6 separate regions of the Homo sapiens genome follow, and regions 1, 3, 4, 5 and 6 are each linked to region 2. The links are contacts of gene promoters, found by promoter capture Hi-C in human tissues and cell types (Jung and others, 2019). All regions are on one chromosome and are shown on one strand. Each heading gives the region's core, a stretch centred on a gene start or on the middle of the fragment in contact. The rest is flanking DNA. Distances are from core to core; before and after follow the strand shown. Region 1 overlaps ADARB1 (adenosine deaminase RNA specific B1). Region 2 holds the start of ITGB2 (integrin subunit beta 2). Region 3 overlaps POFUT2 (protein O-fucosyltransferase 2). Region 4 holds the start of COL18A1 (collagen type XVIII alpha 1 chain). Region 5 holds the start of KRTAP10-9 (keratin associated protein 10-9). Region 6 overlaps LINC02575 (long intergenic non-protein coding RNA 2575).

Region 1 (3,348 bases), core at 705-3,204, 300 kb after region 2:
TCCCAATCAGTGGCTTGTCTTTTAATTCTCTTCATAGTGTCTTACGCAAACCACATAATTTTAATTTTGACAAAATCTAATTTATAGAAATTTTCTTTGATGGATCATGCTTTTGATATTATGTCTAAGAAATATTTGCCTAAGTCAGTACTACAAAGATTTCTTCTTATATTCTTGGAAATTTTACAGTTGCAGTTTTTACATTTAAGACTATATTTCACTTGAGTTCATGTTTGTGTAGGGTATGAAGGATGAACTGAAGTTCATTTTTTGGCATGTAAGATATCCAGTTGATTTAGCACCATTTAGTGAAAGGTTCCTCATTTCTTCATGGAATTGCCTTGTGCCCTTGTCAAAAATCAGCTGGCATGTATATATACATGTGGGTCTGTTTCTGGACTCTGTTGTTTGCCTTTAATCTCTTTGTCTAAAGGCCAGTATTACATTGTCATGATTACTATAGTTTTATTATAAGTTTTGAGGTCAGGTAGAGTTAGTCTTCCAACTTTGTACTTTTTCAAAGTTGTCTTGGCTGCTTAGGTCCTTTTTGTATTTCCATAGCAATTTTATAGTCCACTCATCAGTTCTACATCCTTATTGCACTGGTTAGGACCTCCAGTACAATGTTGAGTAGAAGTGATGACAGCAGACATCCTTCTCTTACATGTCATCTTGGGGGAACACATTCAGTCTTTCACCATTAGGTATGATGTTGGCTGTAGGATTTTTTATTGCTGTTTTTTGTTTTAGAGACAAGGTCTCACTCTTTCACCCAGGCTGGAGTGCAGTAACGTGATCATAGCTCATTGTAACCTGAAACTCCTGGGCCCAAGTGATCCTCCTGTCTCAGCCTCCTGAGTAGCTGGGACTACAGGTGCATGCCACCATGCCTGGTTCATTTTTAAATTTTTTATAGAGACAATGTCTTCCTATGTTGCCCAGATTGGTCTTGAACTCCTGGCCTCAAGCAACCCGCCTGCCTCAGTCTCCCAAAGTGCTGAGATTATAGGAATGATCCACCATATCTGGCTGCTGTAGGTTTTTTACAGATGTCTTTATCAGCTCAAGACATTTTTTTTTTCTATTTATAGCTTACTCAGCGTTTTTAATCAAGAATGTATGCTGGATTTTGTCTGATGCTTTTTTTCTGCTCTTAGATGACTGTTGTCATTGCAGTGACTTAGGCCTATAGTCCCAGCTACTTGGGAACTAAGGCAGGAGGATCACTTGAGCCCTGGAGTTTGAGGCCATCCTGGGCAATGTAGTGAGACCCCATCTGAAACAACAACAACAAAAAATGAGATGAGCATTTAGTTCATTTTTCAGTTTGCTAGTGGTGACGTTAAAAAAAAATTAAACCAACTTTGCATCTTGGGATAAACGTTATATGGTTATTATGTGCTATTCTTTTTATATATTGTTGGATTCAGTTTGCTAAAATTTCATTTAGAATTTTTGTATTTATATTTGTCTGTAGGGATATTGGGCTATCATTTTAGTTTAATGTCTTTGTCAGGCATAAAATGAGTTGGGGTGCATTTCTTTCTCTTCAGTTTTCTGGAAGAGTTTGTTTGGATTTGGTATTATTTCTTTAAATATATGGTTAAATTCACCAGTGAAACCATTGGGCCTGAAGTTTGCTTTGTAAGAAAATTCTAACTACAATTTATTTTTCTATAATAGATTTAGGGCTATTCATGTTATCTGTTTTTATCTTTTTTCTTGAGTAAGCTTCAGTAATTTGTCTTTCAGGGAATTTGTCCATTTCATCTAATTTGTCTAATATATTGGCATAAAAGCATTCAGAATATTCATTTTAATATCTGTGATATCTCTAATGATATCGTCTTATCCCTTATATTGATGATTTGTATCTTCTCTTGGTTGTTTTTTTCTGATCAGTCTAGCTGGAAGTTTTTCAATTCTGTTTGTCTCTAAGTGCCAACTTTTAGGTTCAGTGATTTTTGTCTTTTGTTTTATATTTCAATAATTTTTACTCTGATTTTAATTATTTCTTTTTTTTCCGCTTACCTGGTGTTTCAATTGCCCATCTTTTTGTAGTTTTTTAAGGTGCTAGTTGAGGTCATTGTTTTAAGACCCTTTTTACTGCTTTTGTAGCATTTAAAAATTATGATATGTTTTCATTTTCACTTATATTAAAATACTTTGTCCCTTGGGTTATTTAGAAGTCTGCTATTTAGTTTCAAAATACTAGGGATTTTACAGAGATCTTTCTGTTGTTGGTTTTTTAGTTTCATTTAATGACTTCAGTCCTTTTAAATTTATTAGACTTGGTTTTATGGACCAGAATATGATCTATCTTTATAAGTGTTCCACAAAACTTGAAAGAATGTGAATCTGCCACTTTGGGGTAGAGTGATCTGTAAATGTTGATTAGGCCAAGTTGTTTGATTATACTATTTATTTTCTTTTATATTCTTACCGATCTTCTACTTGGTCTATCAGTTATTGAGAGGCAGGATTGAAAATCTCTTAGTTATAATTGTACATTATCTATTTCTTCCCCTTTTTTAGAGTTTTTACTTCCTGTATTTTGTAGCTCTGTGATTAGATGCATAAAAATGTAGGATTGTTGGTTTATCTTAATAAACCGACCTCCTTTACCATTATATGATGACCCTCTTTATTTCTGGTAATAGTGTTTGTTCTGAAATTTGTTTTGAGATTAATATAACCTCCTCAACTTTCTTTTGATTAGTGTTAGCACAGTGTATCTTCTATCCCTTTATATTAAAGTACTTTATCTTAAAAATATGTTTCTTATAGACATATATTTATATATATTTATATGTTTGGATCTTGCTTCTCTCTCCCACCATGGACAATCTCTGCCTTTTCACTGAGGTACTTAGACCATTTACATTTATTGTGATTATTGATATTATTAGGTTTAAATTTCATCTTGCTACTTATTTTCTACGTGTTTCATATGTTCTTTGTTCACTTTTTCCTCATTTTCTTACTGCTTTTGCCTTAATTGGGTGTGTTTGATGATTCCATTTTGACTCCTTCTTGACTTTTGAGCTGTAACTTTTGTTAATTTGGTGGTGGTTTTTAGGGTTTATAGTATGCATTCTTACCACGATCTCCCTTCAAGTGATATTATACTACTTCACATATAGTAAAAGAACCTTACAACAGGATACTTTCGTTTTTCCATTCCCAACCTTTGTGGTATTGTTTTCAGACACTTTTGCATGTGTTAAAAAAATCCACATCTTATTATTTTCATCTTAATAATTATCTTTTAAAGGAATTTAAATAATAAGAAAAAAACCTCTTGTATATTTATCCATGTAGCTATCATTTCCAGGGCTCTTCATTCTT
Region 2 (3,135 bases), core at 10-2,509:
GACAGCGAGTGTCCCCTATGCCCCCACAGCTCGCTCCCAGGCTGAGCTCTCCGGCCATCCCCCCCCTTCCCCATTGCAGCCATGCCACCCCTCCTTCTCCCCACCCAGGAACTGACAGAGGAGAGGGGCCCCGGATGGACAGGGACAGCAGGGCAGAATCCCAGCTCCCAGATCCAGGGGAGGGGGGATTGGGTGTGGGGACGGTGGTGCAAGGGGTGGTGCCAGGGGTGGAGGATGCATGGGGAGGGCTGGCCCCAAGAGTGCAGTGTTGGGGGAAGGGGGCCAGGTGGGCCTGGGACCCAGGGGCGTGGCTTCAATCCCCCTCCCACCAGGACCTTGGGAATGGCCTCCAGGAGCCTGTTGTGGGGAGGCCAGGGTCACCAGCTGAACCAACTCGACCAGAATCGCACAGCGGTGCCCGCTCCCCTACAGCAAGACGTCACCCAGGGGTCCCCACGGAGGAGGCAGGGAAGCTCGAGGGTCCCAGAGGAGCATGGAGCATGTGCCACACCACACCACACTACATTACACATGTGCACCATACATGTACATACAACAGACTCCCCACATCACATGCGCACACTCGCACACCATACATGCACACACACACACCACACTACGCTATGCCACACACGTGCACCATACATGCACACCATGCCACACTACACACACGACACTACACACCACGAACCACACCACACCATATCACACACCACACACTGCGAGTCGATCTGGAGATGGAATCGCTGTAGCCAGGCGGGGCAGCATGCAGACAGGAGGGCCTAACACAGGCAGGCGCAGCAGGTTCACAGAGGAGGCCCCGGGAACCTGCCTCCTGCCCAGCCCGGAGCACCAGGACCCCCCAGCCGTCCCCCTAGGGGCTTGTGGGCCCAGCCTCTTCCTGGCCTTGCCGGCCTCACAGCCCCTTGTCCTCCCATGCCGGCCCCATCCTCAGCCGCAAGCGCTCCCAGCACACCATGTGGCTCTGCTCTTGGTGGCAGGCACTTCCCCTTGCCGGGTCTCAAAGGGGACCCTGGAGCAGACGGTCTGGAGACCCCTTCCTGCCAGACACCCCTGGGCCGGGGCTATAAGCAGGGCCACCAGGGTCACTCCAGGCTGGGGCAGGAGAGTGCTTCCCTCCAAAAATCACCGTGGACATAGCGGGGCCTCTGCACACTCACCCTCGGTGTGCTGGAGTCCTCGGCGGTGCTCCTGGCTGGGCGTGGGGGCTTTGCTACCAGTCTGCCCTGGGTCACGTCTAGAAACCTCAGCTGGAGGCGCGGGTCGTAAAGTCCTGACACTTCCTGTTCCTCTCAGCTCCTCCTTGGAGGAAGTGGTGGGTTGCACCACCGTGGCCCTTCACCCCTGCCCCTCTCCGCTCTACAGCAGCTCTGATGTCAGAGAGCGGCCCCTTGAGACAGGTGGGACATGTCATTTCTCACATGAGGTCCCGGCGAGAAGGACCTGCTTCCATCAGATTCACACTTGGGAGAGGGGCCCGGCCTCCAGGAGCGCCAGGCAGAAAGGGCACCCATTAGGAAGAAGAACACAGAGGCCATGGGAGTGAAAAGTTTGATGCTGGAAAGCAACAGTAGCACATTCTGCTACAGAGCGGAATGAAAAACCCTGGGGAGCAAATTCCTGAGCCAGAGAATGGAGCGGAGGAACCAGCCAAGGAGGATAAAGAGGTGGGAACAGGCAAGAAAACCTGGGTGCGTGCACGCATTGACATCCACCTGCATGTGAGGGCGGGAGGGGACAGAACAGGGACAGCGAGGAGGAGACACTCAGGTCACAGGAGGAAGGCTGCGGATCTGGGCGGGGACGTGGATTGCGAGGCCACTGAACACCCCAGGGATGGATGGATGAGGTCCTGTTAACTAGGGACATTAGGAGGATACCACAGAACACGAAAGGGAAAATACTACAGGCTCAGAGAGAGAGAGAAGGGAGAGGAGGAGGAGGAGGAAGAGGAGGGAAAGAGATTATACCTAGAAAAAAAACCCAAATCAGACATCTTCAGAGCAAGGACTCAGACACATTACTACCCTAAACTCTGTTTTATTTATTTATTTATTTTTATGTTTTCAGTTTTTTTTGAGACAGAGTTTTGCTTTTGTCACCCAGGCTGGAGTGCAGTGGCGTGATCTCAGCTCACTGCAACCTCTGCCTCCCGGGTTCAAGCAATTCTCCTGCCTCAGCCTCCCAAGTAGCTGGGATTACAGGCACATGTACCACCACGCCTGGGTAATTTTTGTATTCTTAGTAGAGACAGGGTTTCACTATGTTGACCAGGCTGGTCTTGAACTCCTGGCTTCAAGTGATCCATCCACCTCTGCCTTCCAAAGTGCTGGGATTACTGGCGTGAGCCATGGCTCCCGGCTCCTAAACTCTGTTTTAAAGATGTCTTGCAGAAATAGACATGAAGAAATCCATGAGAAATACAAGAGCAGATGATACAAAGTTGGGCAAAGAAATAAGTAAAAATTATGATGTCATAACCTGTTGATTTAAAAAATAGTGGTAAGAATATTAACGCTGTGAAACAAAACGCCTAGAGGACTGGGTTGGGAGGGGCCAGGGAGCACATTGCCGTTCCATCCTATCTGGGGAGGAATATAGATGCTTGTCAGTGGGCATTTTGATAGAAAATATCTAAGTATATATGCTAACAATTCAAGAGTCTCCTTAAGAATAAAAATAGCATGTATATACCTGAAAAAAAATATGACAAATCTTTATTTTGGGCATGGTGGCTCAAACTTGTAATCCCAGCACTTTGGGAGGCCGAGGTGGGAGGATCACTTGAGCCCAGGAGTTCGAGACCAGCCTAGGCAACATTTGGAGACCCAGACCCTCATCTCTACAAAAAAATTTTCTAAGAATTCGCCAGGCATGGTAGCACGCGATATGGTCCAGGCTACTTGGGAGGCTGAGGTGGGAGAATTGCTTGAGCCCAAGAGGTTGAGGCTACGGTGAACCATGCTTACACCACTGCACTCCAGTCTGGGTAACTGAGAAAAAAAAAAAAAAAAAAAGGCAAATCCTTTAAAAGAAAAAAGTAAGGGAAAATAGAACAAACAAGAAAGGTAAATAAAAACCAAACAATAAAACATTGGGAATAATTTCAAACCC
Region 3 (3,193 bases), core at 458-2,957, 350 kb after region 2:
CCCGGCCGCCCCTACTGGGAAGCAAAGAGCCCCTCTGCCCGGCCAGCCGCCCCGTCTGGGAGGGAGGTGGGGGGGTCAGCCCCCCGCCTGGCCAGCCGCCCCGTCCGGGAGGTGAGGGGCGCCTCTGCCCGGCCGCCCCTACTGGGAAGTGAAGAGCCCCTCTGCCCGGCCAGCCGCCCCGTCTGGGAGGGAGGTGGGGGGGTCAGCCCCCCGCCCGGCCAGCCGCCCCGTCCGGGAGGTGAGGGGCGCCTCTGCCCGGCCGCCCCTACTGGGAAGTGAAGAGCCCCTCTGCCCGGCCACCACCCCGTCTGGGAGGGGTACCCAACAGCTCATTGAGAACAGGCCAGGATGACAATGGCGGCTTTGTGGAATAGAAAGGCGGGAAAGGTGGGGAAAAGATTGAGAAATCGGATGGTTGCCGTGTCTGTGTAGAAAGAAGTAGACATGGGAGACTTTTCATTTTGTTCTGCACTAAGAAAAATTCTTCTGCCTTGGGATCCTGTTGATCTGTGACCTTACCCCCAACCCTGTGCTCTCTGAAACATGTGCTGTGTCCACTCAGGGTTAAATGGATTAAGGGCGGTACAAGATGTGCTTTGTTAAACAGACGCTTGAAGGCAGCATGCTCGTTAAGAGTCATCACCAATCCCTAATCTCAAGTAATCAGGGACACAAACACTGCGGAAGGCCGCAGGGTCCTCTGCCTAGGAAAACCAGAGACCTTTGTTCACTTGTTTATCTGCTGACCTTCCCTCCACTATTGTTCCATGACCCTGCCAAAATCCCCGTCTGTGAGAAACACCCAAGAATTATCAATAAAAAAAATAAATTAAAAGAAAGGAAAGAAACGAAAGCATTGAAGCTCCATACCCTTTCTGACGGCATCTGTGGCCACAAACACCTTGTCCAGCCGGTGGGTCTTCATGAGGCTGCGGATCTTCCTCACGGCCCCTTCCAGACTGGGTACATCCTGTCTGTGACCCCAGATGAAATCTTTTCTTCTCAGGTGGACTCCCAGGTAGGGGCCCCCTAGCGCGGAGCCCAGCTTGACCTAGCAAAGAACCACAAGGAAATGCAGAAGCTGACAGGCGGGCTCGGGGCTCATCCTGGGCACCGGGTGGGACTCGAGACGCAGAGGGATGACCCTTTCCATGTGGCCTCCTCCACGGGGTGGCTCCAGGGCTGTCTAAGGGATTCAGGTGGAATCTCGGGGGCGACCAGATGTCTTTCTAAGAAGACAGTGAAGCAGTATTAATTACCAGAAATCATTTTATCTGAGGTAAAGAAAAATATTTAAAAAGAGAACAGCATGTGGAGGCTCACGCTGTGAACTTTTCCTCCGAGAACCACCGCAGGGACGTGCCACAAAGAGTTCACGGATCCTGTGGACAAAGCAGCTCACAGCTGCAAACTCCCCGGGAGCCAGAATGCTCTGCTGCCCTCTTGACAGTGCCACCTCCTGGCTGGAGGCCACCAACGCAAATGGCTACAGCAAATTCTAACCAACAACCCTGCTCCAAGGAAGGAGAAAGCAACAGCTAATCCCACCACCTGCAACCTCCTGGCTGTCCACAGGTCCCGAGTCTGTCCACGTGACAACTTCACTGCAGCATAACCAGCATTCGAGAAAGCCAGTGCACTCAACAAAACTACAACCAAGGACCCCCCCAGAGTCCACTTCACTCCCCCGCCACCTCCAGCAGAGCAGGTGCTGGAACCCATGGCTGGGAGACCCGAAGACGGATCACAGCACAGGACTCTCCGCAGACATTCCCCAGCAGCATCCCAGGGCCTGGTAGCCCCACTGGGTGGCTAGACCCAGAAGAGCAATAACAATCACTGCAGCCCAGCTCTCAGGGAGCCCCATCCCTAGGGGAAGGCGAAGAGCGCCACAGAGCACCCCGTGGGATAAAAGAATCTGAACAGTAGCCCGTGAGTTCCAGATCTTTCCACTGAAGTAGTCTGCCCAAATGAGAAGCAGGCAGAAAAGCAATTGTGATAATATGACAAAACAAGGTTCTATAGTACCCCCAAAAGATCATAGTAGCTCCCCAGCAATGGATCCAAACCAGGAAGAAATCTCTCAATTGCCAGATAAAGAATTCCGAAGGTTCATTATTAAGCTACTCAAGGACATACCAGACAAAGGTGAAAACCAACTTAAAGAAATTAAAAAAAAAACAACAACAACAATATGGATGAAAAATGCTCCAGATAACTAGGTATCTTAAAGGAAAAACAATTGCAACTTCTGGAAATGAAAGACACACTTAAAGAAACGAAATACACTGGAAAGTTTCAATAATAGACTAGAACAGGAGAAGAAAGAGCTTCAGAGCTCGAAGACAAGGTTTTCAAATTAGCCCAATCCAACAAACAAGAAAAAAGAATAGTAAAAAAAATGAACAAAGCCTCCAAGAAATTTGGAATTATGTTAAACAACCAAACCTAAGGATAATTGGTGTTCCTGAGGAAGAAGAGTAATCTAAAAGTTTGGAAAACTTATTTGAGGGAATAATTGAGGAAAACTTACCTGGTCTTGCTAGAGATCTAGACATCCAAATACAGGAAGCTCAAAGAATACCTGGGCAATTCATCACAAAAAGATCATCTCCTAGGCACACAGTCATCAGGTTATCTAAAGTCAAGATGAAGGAAAGAATCTTAAGAGCTGTGAGCCAAAAGCACCAGGTAACCTATAAAGGAAAACCTATCAGATTCACAGCAGATTTCTCAGCAGAAACCTACAAGCTACAAGGGACTGGGGTCCTATCTTCAGCCTCCACAAACAAAGTAATTATCAGCCAAGAATTTTATATCCAGCAAAACTAAGCTTCATAAATGAAGGAGAGATCATCTTTTTCAGACAAACAAATGCTGAGAGAATTCACCACTCCCAAAGCCAGCTCTACAAGAAATGTTAAAGAAGTTCTAAATCTTGAAACAAAACCTCAAAATACGCCAAAATAGAACCTTCTTAAAGCATAAATCTCACAGGGCATATAAAACAACGCAATGAAAAAGAAAGAAAACAGAGTATTCAGGCAGCAACTAGTATGATGAATAGAATACAGTACCTCACACCTCAATACCAAAGTTGAATGTAAATGGCTTAGAGACTCCACTTAAGAGAAACAGAATGGCAGAATGGAAAAAAATCCACCTGAAAGCTGTGAGGCAAAAGTCTTCAAGA
Region 4 (3,380 bases), core at 602-3,101, 480 kb after region 2:
AGTGCATCAGGCCACACCTGCAGAGACCTGCTTCCCCTGGCAGCAGGCACCTGCCCTGACGGAAGACTTAGGAATGGGTTGGGTTGGGTGGAAGTGGTGCCCCAGGGCAGGTGAGATGGAAGAGGTGAAAGAGACCTGCACTGCAGGGTTAATGGACAGGGGCCAGACAGACCAGGAGCCTCGGGAGGAGAAGCCACCAGGACCCAGGACACATGAACACCCCTGACACACACTCACACGCACACAGGCTGACACACATGCACACACTGTACATAGTTACAGAAACACACACATGCACACACACAGCACAGAGAGACATGCACACACATGCACACAAGGTACGGTCACAGACACACACACAGCAGACACACAGACACACCCACTGCACTGCAGAGACACCACCAAACCCTGATAGACACACACAGACTCACTCCTCCATCCACCTGAGAAACAAAAGTTTTGCAGAAGTGTGCGATGACCACTTCTACTCTATGCTGTTCTCCTTAATCTTTTTATTTTTAAAAAATGTGGGTCATAATCCTTTACATTGATTTCCTTCCTCACAGTGCACCGCAAGCACTCAGGGAAGGACTCCAGGTTTGAAGGCAGATGCTGGTCGGGACCCGACCAGGTGGCTGGGCGGGAAGAGGTGAGATCGGGCAGGATTGGGCCTGGGAAGGCTGAGGCAGGCAGGGATGATGCCAGCAGAGGAGAATCCCAAGCAGGCCCCGCGGCTGCGGCTGGAGAGCTCCAGGGGCGGAGAGGAGGTGGGAGGCAGCAGTCAGGTTGGGAGGACCCTGGCAAGCAAGCCCAGAGAGGAGGGCCGGGAGGGCCGGGCACTAGAAGTGTGAAGTCACTGCTGCCTCCTGGGGCTGCTTCAGAGGATGGGTGGGGCCACGTGTGGGGAGATCAGGGAGACTGGAGACTACGCTGTTTGGTCCAGGCATAGGAGATGAGCCCTGGCCGGGAAGGGACAGTGTGGATGGGCCAGGCGGAATCAGAGGGTTTCAGAGAAAGCCGTCAAGCCAGTGCCATGAGTTTCGCGCACACGAGGAGGGAGCAGGCTGGGGGGTGTTGCTGGTGTGAGGGCTCTCTGGTTGCAGGGAGCGGTCCGGTCGGGTGGGGGCACAGCTGCCAGGAGGAAAGCGCCCAGGGCCTGCAGGTGGGGCTCAGGATGCTGGCCCTGAAGAAATAGAAACAGGGTTTTCACCTGGGAGGGAGGAGGAGCCTGGGAACTGGGGAGGAAGAGGCTCTGCTGGGCCGCGCCCTGGGAACAGGGGGACCTGGGGACAGATCTGGCCCTCGCACGCCCCTCCTGTCTCGCGTCCGTCCCTCCGTGCAGCCGGGGCAGGACCCTGCAGGGGCCTTGCGGGCCGGAGGTGCCGGCTTCCTCCTCCGTCCCGTCCCCCCCGCGGTGACTCTATTCAAATCTCCCCCCTTCCCGCTGCCCCACCGGACTCAGGGGCTGGGGTCGTAGCCCGGCGGGCAGCGGTGTTCACCTTCCGCATAAACCTGGGCTTCCTCGCGGGGCAGCCCCCGGGCCCTGTGCTGGGTCGCAGCCTCGGGCGGTTCCCTCGGGGCGGGACGTGTCCCCGTCCGTCCTCGCCCGTCCCCGCCGCCCCCGGGTCCCGGCCCGCCCCGTCCTCGCAGCCGCAGGTCCGCTGCGGCGCCCGCCCCCCTCTCCCCTCCCCGGGCCTTGCCCTGCTCGTCGCTCCGCCCCCTGCCCGGCCCCTGCCCGGCCCCGCCCCGCGCCCGCCCCCTGCCCGCGCCCGCCCCGCCCCCTGCCCGGCCCCTGCCCGGCCCCTGCCCGCCCCCTGCCCGGCCTCCCAGCGGCGGCGGCTGCAGCGCGGCGGTCCGAGCGGGTGCACCGCGGCGGAGGAGGCAGCATCCCGCGGCGCTGACGGTCCTGGGGAGAGCATGGCGCCGAGGTGAGGCCGGGGCTGCGGGCAGGGGTTGGGGGACGCCAAGATGCGGCTGCGGGGGTCGCGGGGGTCGCGGGGCTCGGCCGGGTCCTGCGGGGGTCGCGGGGGTCCTGCGGGGTCTGACCCGTGCCTGTCCCGCGCAGGTGCCCCTGGCCATGGCCGCGGCGGCGGCGCCTCCTGGACGTGCTCGCGCCCCTGGTCCTGCTGCTCGGGGTCCGCGCGGCCTCCGCGGAGCCAGGTAAGACCCGGGCGGGACGGGAAGGTTCGCGCCGGTGCCCGCCGGCCTCGCCGCCCTGGCTGGGGTCCCCGCCCGGCTCCCTCACCCCCGCCCCGGCCGCTCTGGGTTCAGCCCCGGCCCTGCCCACGCGCGCAGGAGGCGCCGGAGCCGGACGGAGCGGGGCGGGGTGGCCGGAGTCCCGCCCATTCATTCTCCCCGCGGGGTCCGGGCCGGGAGGGGTGCGCGGTGCGAGCGGCCGGAGTCCCCGCGCGGGGACCGAACCTCCGCGGCCGGCGGGGTCGTCGGTGCCGGGAGGGCTCGGGGCGGGGCCGCGGGGTCTCGGGAGACGCGGCCTCTGTCGCCGTCACGGCCTCGTCCCCGCAGCGCCGGGTCCCGGGACTGACCGCGGGCGGAAGGCGGCGGAGCGCGGGGCGTCGTCTCCGCGTTTCCAACCTGTTGAGGCTCCTCGCCGCGGGCCGGGCCTTGTGCGCCTCTGTCCCCGCCGCCCTCAGGCCTCTGTCCCCGCGCCCGCCGTGGTGTCGGGTTGCGCGGTCCCCTTTGATGCCAACCGAGCGCCGCGCGGTCCGAGAACAATGCCCAGAAGCCGCTGCCCCGCCGGCCTCGCCGCTTCCCGTGCGCGGCAAACGGTGCGCGGGGCCCGTGGGGACCTTCCTGCCTCCAACCCCGGGACCCAGTTCCCCACCACCTGCTAACCGGGGCCTCCTGCCTCCAGCCAGCCCAGCAGAGGCCCGGGGGAGGCGGCGGGGACGCGGACCCCAGGGGAGCCCCGCCCAAAGGGCCTGGGTGCCTTGTCGCGGGTGGAATCCCACCCGGGGGTCCACGCAGCCAGCGCCTGCCTCCGACTCGACTCCACACCTGCTTGCTACAGCGGGTGAGGAAGCAGGAAAGGGGGAGGGAGGGATGTCGTCTGGATTCCTGTAATAATTTGTTTCATTGTTTCCAATCGACTTAGTCACCAGGTTAAATAGTAGCATAGACCTTTCAAAAAAGTAGCTAGCTTATAAGTAGATGTATTGAAAACACCTGCTTGTTGAGTCGTAGACAATTCCTCATTTACTGTGTGAACTCTAGGGGGTGAAACACGGGCGGAGAGCGGCTGTGAGCTCACGCGGCTCCATCCCCACAGCGGCCCAGGGTCACTCGGGGCCATTAATCAGGCCGCAGAGCTGCCCTCTGAGCCGGGCCGCCAGCGCCCACAGGGCCCAGACCAGGGCTCCCTG
Region 5 (3,213 bases), core at 307-2,806, 290 kb before region 2:
AGCCCAAAATGGACCAGTTCAAAACTTTTCTATCCTGTCTGAAACCCAGTCCTATCCCCAGCGTTCCCACATGCAAGTCTGAGTGGACCTCGGGGAAGGCCGCGGGGAGCGGCATGGCCTCTCTTTCCTTGCTCCCCTTCTCCCTGTTTTGGGCTCTAATTTCTTCAGTGATGGGGACGGGGGAAGGAATGTGCAGGGCCACCACTGTGGGGCTCACTGGCCACTGCTGCACCTTCTCTCCGGCTGCTCCAGTGATCCTGTGCTTCTACCAGCTGCTTCTGCCTCTTCAGTGAGGACCCACTTTAGAGACACCCCCAGGGACAGTAGCTGGAGGACTCTCTCCCTGGGACACCACACTTTGCGTAAGACTGAAGGGCCACCCCTGCCTCCACAGCCTCCTTCTTACAACCTGGGCAGCACTGGTGGGGTGTGGCAGCTGGCCATAGCTGGTCAACTTCTGTCTTATTTTAGAAACCCTGTGGGGACAGGTCTGACCCAGAATGTTAGCATTATTTTTAGAATGAGAGGCCGTTTCCAGCTTTGCCAGATTCACAGCAACAAAGACGTTCTACTCAACATCGTGTAATACGTCTTACTTTATAATGAAATATGCGTATGTGTACTTGAATTTTTAAATAAAAATGTGAAATCACAATCAATATTATAATTAGCTGCTGGGTAGCAATGTTCCTGGAAAGTGATCAGGGCCATTTTATAAGGCAAGAAGCTCGGGACTTCATCATGCCCTGTGGTGATAACAATTCATCATCAAAGATCATGCAGCCGTGAGAGTTGCCTGTGGCTGACCTGGGGGTGTGTGATGGGGCCTGTGGGCAGGGCTGGTGAGAAAAAGATGCTTGCAGTGCAGGGCACACGGAGGAGATGGCTCCAGCAGTGGCGAGGGCTGGCGGCTGCCTGCTGCCTAGCACAGCTACTTCACGGGTTCAGAACCCGAAACCACAGCCCACGATGCTGCCATTGTGCCTCAGCAAGGAGTGGGCTGAGCCCACGATCCCTGCCCTGGAACAGAGTCCTGCTGCCTCCCAAGCAAAGGACAGGGTGGGCAATGAACAGAGGGCAGGAGGCACAGAGGCCATGGGGATTAGAAATTGGCGAGTCCTGTGTCCTACAGCAGGGGAAGGACCATACTAGAGGAGGAGTTTGCACCACAGGAAATAATTCCTAAGGGCCGGCTTCCTGCAGAGGAAGCCCGTGTCCTGAGGCTGCTGGGGCCAGTGGCTGGACGATGCCCCAGCAACCAAAGATGGCCCCAGGCACATCCCACCCACATCCCACCCACCAGACGCCCACAGCCGTCCTTGCCTCCAGAACCCAGCTGGGATCAGGCCCACCCCAACTCCTGCCCCTGAGGTTCCACATGCAACAGACTATAGCCCAGGTGTGACAGGAGATTTGTGAGCTGGGCAATGTCACCAGCAAACAAACATCCCTAATCATGGCAGACGCCGCCTCTCAGCAACAAGGAAGGGGAAGCTGTGGGCCCTGGAACAACAAGGCCAGGAGGGGTATAAAAGCCTGAGAGCCCCAAGAACCTCACACACTCACAAACTCACTCACTGACACACTCACACACTCACTTACACCTCCCCCAGCTCACCTCCTCCCCACCCCAGCATGGCCGCGTCCACCATGTCCATCCGCTCCAGCGCTTACTCCGACTCCTGGCAGGTGGACGACTGCCCAGAGAGCTGCTGTGAGCCCCCCTGCTGCGCCACCAGCTGCTGCGCCCCGGCCCCCTGCCTGACCCTGGTCTGCACCCCAGTGAGCCGTGTATCCAGCCCCTGCTGCCAGGTGACCTGTGAGCCCAGCCCCTGCCAATCAGGCTGCACCAGCTCCTGCACGCCCTCGTGCTGCCAGCAGTCTAGCTGCCAGCCGGCTTACTGCACCTCCTCCCCCTGCCAGCAGGCCTGCTGCGTGCCCGTCTGCTGCAAGCCTGTGTGCTGCGTGCCCGTCTGCTGTGGGGCTTCTTCGTGCTGCCAACAGTCTAGCTACCAGCCAGCTTGCTGTGCCTCTTCCTCCTGCCAGCCGGCCTGCTGTGTGCCCGTCTGCTGCAAACCTGTGTGCTGTGCGCCCACCTGCTCTGAGGATTCCTATTCATGCTGCCAACAGTCTAGCTGCCAGCCAGCTTGCTGCACTTCCTCCCCCTGCCAGCAGTCCTACTGTGTGCCTGTCTGCTGTAAGCCTGTCTGCTGCAAACCCATCTGCTGTGTGCCTGTCTGCTCTGGGGCTTCCTCTTTGTGCTGCCAGCAGTCTGGCTGCCAGCCGGCTTGCTGCACCACCTCCTGCTGCAGACCCTCCTCCTCTGTGTCCCTCCTCTGCCGCCCTGTGTGCAGGCCCGCCTGCTGCGTGCCCGTCTCCTCCTGCTGTGCCCCCACCTCCTCCCGCCAGCCCAGCTATTGCCGCCAGGCCTCCTGTGTGTCCCTTCTCTGCCGCCCTGTGTGCTCCCGCCCGGCCTGCTACAGCTTCTCCTCAGGCCAGAAGTCCAGCTGCTGACGGTCATGTCCCCCAGGGCCAGCCGGGCTCAGGCCCCACCTCCCTGCCAGTCCTTGGACCTCCCAGCCCACCCAGCCTCAGCACAGCTCAACACAGAAGGAGCAGCCCCAGCCACAGCCGCCCAGCCCCGGGGTCTCAGATGCTCACTGGCTCCTCCCTGACCTCCCCCCCGGGCAGGCGAGCCCTGGCTTCTCCTCACGGTGCTTCCTGGCTGCAGACCACAACCCTCCGCTGGTCGCTGGTTGGGGACGGGCCCTCCTGACCCGGGTCTCACCCCCAGCAGCGTCACCCTCTGCCCCTGAGCACCAATAAAGCGTCTGCGGCCCCAGCTGACTCCGTGCTGACTCTCCGCACCCAGGGCGGGAGGGGGCAGAGTGGGGCCTGGCCTGGCTCTGGGGGGCTGGGCCCCGTGGATCTCTTTACTTCCCCAGCTGGGGGGCCTCGGGGGGCTCTTGTGTGACACCTGGAAGCTCCTGTCCACCTCGTGGCACGTTCTGCTGTCCGGCTCCCCTCCCAGGTCCTGTGGGGCCCAAAAGCCTTGTTCACTGGCTGAGTCCCACAGACACCACGTGACTCAGGCTAATGCCCCACTCACTGTGGGTAGAAGCAGCTCCTTCCCATGGCAAGGGTTGGGGCTGTCCCGGGGGGTGGCAGGCCCCAGCTGTGCTGGGAGGTGGGAGACGGGCGGTGGGGGGTGGG
Region 6 (3,098 bases), core at 133-2,632, 430 kb before region 2:
TCTTCTAGGGTTTTTATGGTTTTAGGTCTAACGTTTAAGTCTTTAATCCATCTTGAATTGATTTTTGTATCTTTTTTCCTTTTCTAAGTGAGAGGGCTCCCCTCCCAACTCTGTTTCTGATGGGGAAGTTAGCAGAGGACCAGCGACCCCTGCTGGCGGAGAGCTGCAAATTTGGCAGGGCACATTTGAGACACTCTCAACAGATAGAACCAGCCTCTAAAATATCTTTTCAGTCCCAAACTCGATTCCAAGCTTCAGGCTGAGGTCTTAGAAAGAAAAAACAGGTCTGAGGGATCCAAAGCCAGGGAACAGGCACAATGTAAATGGGTAGCACCAATTCCTGCTGACTAAACCCCCCACCCTATGGAAGGAGGCCATGCTTCATGGCATAAACAGGCCCAGGGAACTGAAGGTTTGCCGACAGCAGGGAGAAAGGGAGGCATAGGCAAGGGCGGTTCGTTCCTAGTCTCCAGGTTTTCCCTGCTTCATGGGTACATACCACATTAGTACCCATGGCTGGCACCTGCCAAGGTCGCCAGGGCTCAGGGATAAGGAGTGGAGACTGAAAGGATCATGCTCGCTTTCTCTCTCCATCACACCCTGAGTTTTCGCTGAAAGAAGGAAGAGAATGAGGGGCTTCTCTATTCACTGTCTCCAGTTCTCTTCAACACCCCCAGTTTATACTCCTCTGTAGTGTACCCTGAACCATCGGGACTGCTTTGACCCTCAGAATCTGCAGGAGAAACACCTCAGAGCCCTCTGCACAAAGGTTTGGCCAAATTATGAAGGACTGGGTTGGCCCTAGGAAGGAATCATTCATTTCCATACCATTCGGCTGTTGAGACTTTTCTGTAGATGTGAGGACAGATGGCCTGAGGCCCCGTATGTGCAGGGCCTTTCTATACCTTGCAAGGAAATCCAGACCTTGCCGACAGTGTAGGATTCATCCAGCCCTCCTGTTTGCCATCTCAGAGAAGGCTGCAAGGGGTAAGCCCAGGGAATTAAAGATACGAGTCCTAGAGGCACCCCGGAAAGAGAGGCCAGCTCCCTCAAGCCCTGCTCCTCTGGGTCCACCCCGACCTCCCTATCCAGCTTCAGCCTCTCACTTGGCCCCTCCTACAAATTCTCACTCTAAACAAGCCCCAGTCTCACTCTTGCTCCTCCAACAGATGCCTGGTGAATTTGGGCCAGCAAGGTCCAGGTCCCCTTCTCCTTACAGGACTTAAAGTAAATTAAGGGGGGATCTGGGCAAGTTTTCAGATGATCCTCATAGGTATATAGAGGCTTTCTAGAATTTCAACCAAATAGTTGAACTCTCCTGGAGAGAGACGTTATGTTACTTTTGAATCAGACTGTGATAGACACTGAGAAACAGGCCACTCTACAAGCTGCAGAGAGATTTGGGGATGAGCTTTGCATCACATGTAGCATCAGGAAAGGGGGTGAATATTATCCAACCGGAAGAGAAGCAGTACCAGTGAATGACCGTAAATGGGACCCCAATCATGAGATGGAAGCCGGGCGGAGGAGACACTTTCAGGTGTGCGTAATAGAAGGCTTACGTAAGACTAAGAACAAGTTGTCCATGATCAACCAGGAATTTGATGAAAATCCAATCGCCTTCTAGGAAAGGCTAAGAGAGGCCTTGGTAAAGCTCACCTCTCTCTCTCCTGGTTCAGTTGAGGGACAGTGAATCCCAAAGCATAACTTTATTACTCAGGCGGCTCCTGACATCAGGAGGAAGTTGCAAAAACTGGGCCATTGGACCAGATAGTACATTAGAGGACCTCCTAAAAGTGGCCACCTCAGTCTTTTATAATAGAGACGGAGGCCCAGGACAGTGAGAGGAGACACAGGAAAGAGACAAAAGCTTCAGTGGCCACCGTGTACGTCCACAAACCCCAGAATTCCCAGGGTGCACCTGTTAACTGCTAAAGATATGGCAAGAATAGTTACTTCATTCTAAAGTTTATTTGCTCTTGTACAAGGTTTAATTTCTTGCACCAGGGGTGAAACAGCTCAGGGTGCAACTTTGCTGTTAGTATATTTCACTTCTTATCTTTGTGATCTTTGGGAGTACATTCTTTCTTTTTATAACACACATGTTTAACCCATGCATACTTAACCTTATAAAACCTGGGTTTTTTTTTTTCTCTCATGCCTAGAACCATCAAACTCCAAGTGGACAGGCAACTGGAGCCTCAGATAATGACTCCCCTTTGCTAGGAACCCTTAGACAGACCTCTGGGAGGAATTTGACTGCCGTTTTCTCAAAAACAACGCCCCCTGTCAGCGGGAAGCAGCTAAGACAGGTCATCGTCCATATTCTAATAGCAGTTAGATGTACGTTTTCAGAGAGGGGAAATGATACAGGAGTGCGGGGAAGGGAAGAGTGTCATCTCTTTAAATGATACAGAAGGGAGGTGCTGGGTAGAAGAGGGTGTGGTCCCTGGCTAGGGCTCCACCCCCACGGACCTAGGTGAGGGCAGGCACTTTCTCCTTCTCACCCAAATGTTGCATTTTCCAAGATCACCCTGGCCTGCCATGCCCCCATCCTGGGCCTATAAAAACCCTGAGACCCTAGCAAGGCAGAGATAGAAGCTGCCGGATGCTGAGAGAAACACATCAGTGGAAGGGAAGAAGAAAAGCGGCTGGACATGGAGAGGACGTCAGTGGAGCATGCCGGCGGAAGAGCACACCCACAGACCCTGGCACGCCGGCAGGCCACGTAGCGGCAGGCCACGTAGCGGCAGGCCACGTAGCGGCAGGCCACGTAGCGGCAGGCCAAGGCGGAGTTTGGCCGGGGCAGTCGGAGGAGAGCTAGGCCACTAAGCAGCTCAACTCCAGGAGAAAACCATCTCCCTTCTGGCTCCTCCATCAGCTGAGAGCTGCTTCCACTCAATAACACTTCGCACTGATTCTCCAAGCCCAGGTGTGATCCGATTCTTCTGGTACACCCAGGCAAGAACCCAGGATACAGACAGCCCTCTGTCCTTTTGATAACTAGAGGGTCTCATTGACCTGGTTAACACAAGCTGCCTACAGACGGCAAAACTAAAAGAGCACCCTGGAACACACGCCCACTGGGGCTTCAGCTG

The links. Contacts are between HindIII fragments. The study calls those that stand out against the background at their distance.
Region 1: a fragment that was not itself captured here is called in contact with the fragment with the promoter of ITGB2 in region 2 in 2 of the 25 tissues and cell types used here (IMR-90 fibroblasts and mesenchymal stem cells).
Region 3: a fragment that was not itself captured here is called in contact with the fragment with the promoter of ITGB2 in region 2 in 2 of the 25 tissues and cell types used here (IMR-90 fibroblasts and lymphoblastoid cells).
Region 4: a contact is called between the fragment with the promoter of COL18A1 here and the fragment with the promoter of ITGB2 in region 2, in 4 of the 25 tissues and cell types used here (IMR-90 fibroblasts, heart right ventricle, neural progenitor cells and 1 more).
Region 5: the fragment with the promoter of KRTAP10-9 here is called in contact with the fragment with the promoter of ITGB2 in region 2 in 1 of the 25 tissues and cell types used here (mesendoderm cells).
Region 6: a contact is called between a fragment that was not itself captured here and the fragment with the promoter of ITGB2 in region 2, in 2 of the 25 tissues and cell types used here (dorsolateral prefrontal cortex and lymphoblastoid cells).

What each region holds. Positions count from the first base shown.
Region 1 is chr21:45,214,317-45,217,664 of GRCh38, forward strand. The region is part of intron 9 of ADARB1 (adenosine deaminase RNA specific B1); the gene reads left to right. Among named protein-coding and RNA genes, the nearest start is that of LINC00334, 18 kb to the right of the region's middle. The HindIII fragment of the contact is 3,297 bases long and covers 307-3,348 here.
Region 2 is chr21:44,919,640-44,922,774 of GRCh38, forward strand. It overlaps ITGB2 (integrin subunit beta 2), which reads right to left and starts at 1,260. Exons shown (of 16, transcript NM_000211.5): 1 at 1,182-1,260. ITGB2-AS1 (ITGB2 antisense RNA 1) reads left to right here and starts at 1,396. Exons shown (of 3, transcript NR_038316.1): 1 at 1,396-1,688. The HindIII fragment of the contact is 46,650 bases long and covers 1-3,135 here.
Region 3 is chr21:45,268,969-45,272,161 of GRCh38, forward strand. POFUT2 (protein O-fucosyltransferase 2) reads right to left here. Exons shown (of 9, transcript NM_133635.6): 7 at 871-1,051. Among named protein-coding and RNA genes, the nearest start is that of POFUT2, 17 kb to the right of the region's middle. The HindIII fragment of the contact is 5,405 bases long and covers 1-3,193 here.
Region 4 is chr21:45,403,314-45,406,693 of GRCh38, forward strand. It overlaps COL18A1 (collagen type XVIII alpha 1 chain), which reads left to right and starts at 1,852. Exons shown (of 42, transcript NM_001379500.1): 1 at 1,852-1,928; 2 at 2,066-2,160. The coding sequence starts at 1,918. BNAT1 (breast cancer associated ESR1 regulating natural antisense transcript 1) reads right to left here and starts at 3,049. Exons shown (of 2, transcript NR_183526.1): 1 at 2,854-3,049; 2 at 493-1,183. RefSeq lists an enhancer at 1,007-1,707. The HindIII fragment of the contact is 38,297 bases long and covers 1-3,380 here.
Region 5 is chr21:44,625,537-44,628,749 of GRCh38, forward strand. It overlaps KRTAP10-9 (keratin associated protein 10-9), which reads left to right and starts at 1,557. Exons shown (of 1, transcript NM_198690.3): 1 at 1,557-2,842. The coding sequence starts at 1,636. The coding sequence ends at 2,514. The region is part of intron 1 of TSPEAR (thrombospondin type laminin G domain and EAR repeats); the gene reads right to left. RefSeq lists an enhancer at 482-1,177. The HindIII fragment of the contact is 22,066 bases long and covers 1-3,213 here.
Region 6 is chr21:44,487,866-44,490,963 of GRCh38, forward strand. LINC02575 (long intergenic non-protein coding RNA 2575) reads left to right here. Exons shown (of 2, transcript NR_155204.1): 2 at 2,529-3,098. Among named protein-coding and RNA genes, the nearest start is that of LINC02575, 3.8 kb to the left of the region's middle. The HindIII fragment of the contact is 6,132 bases long and covers 1-3,098 here.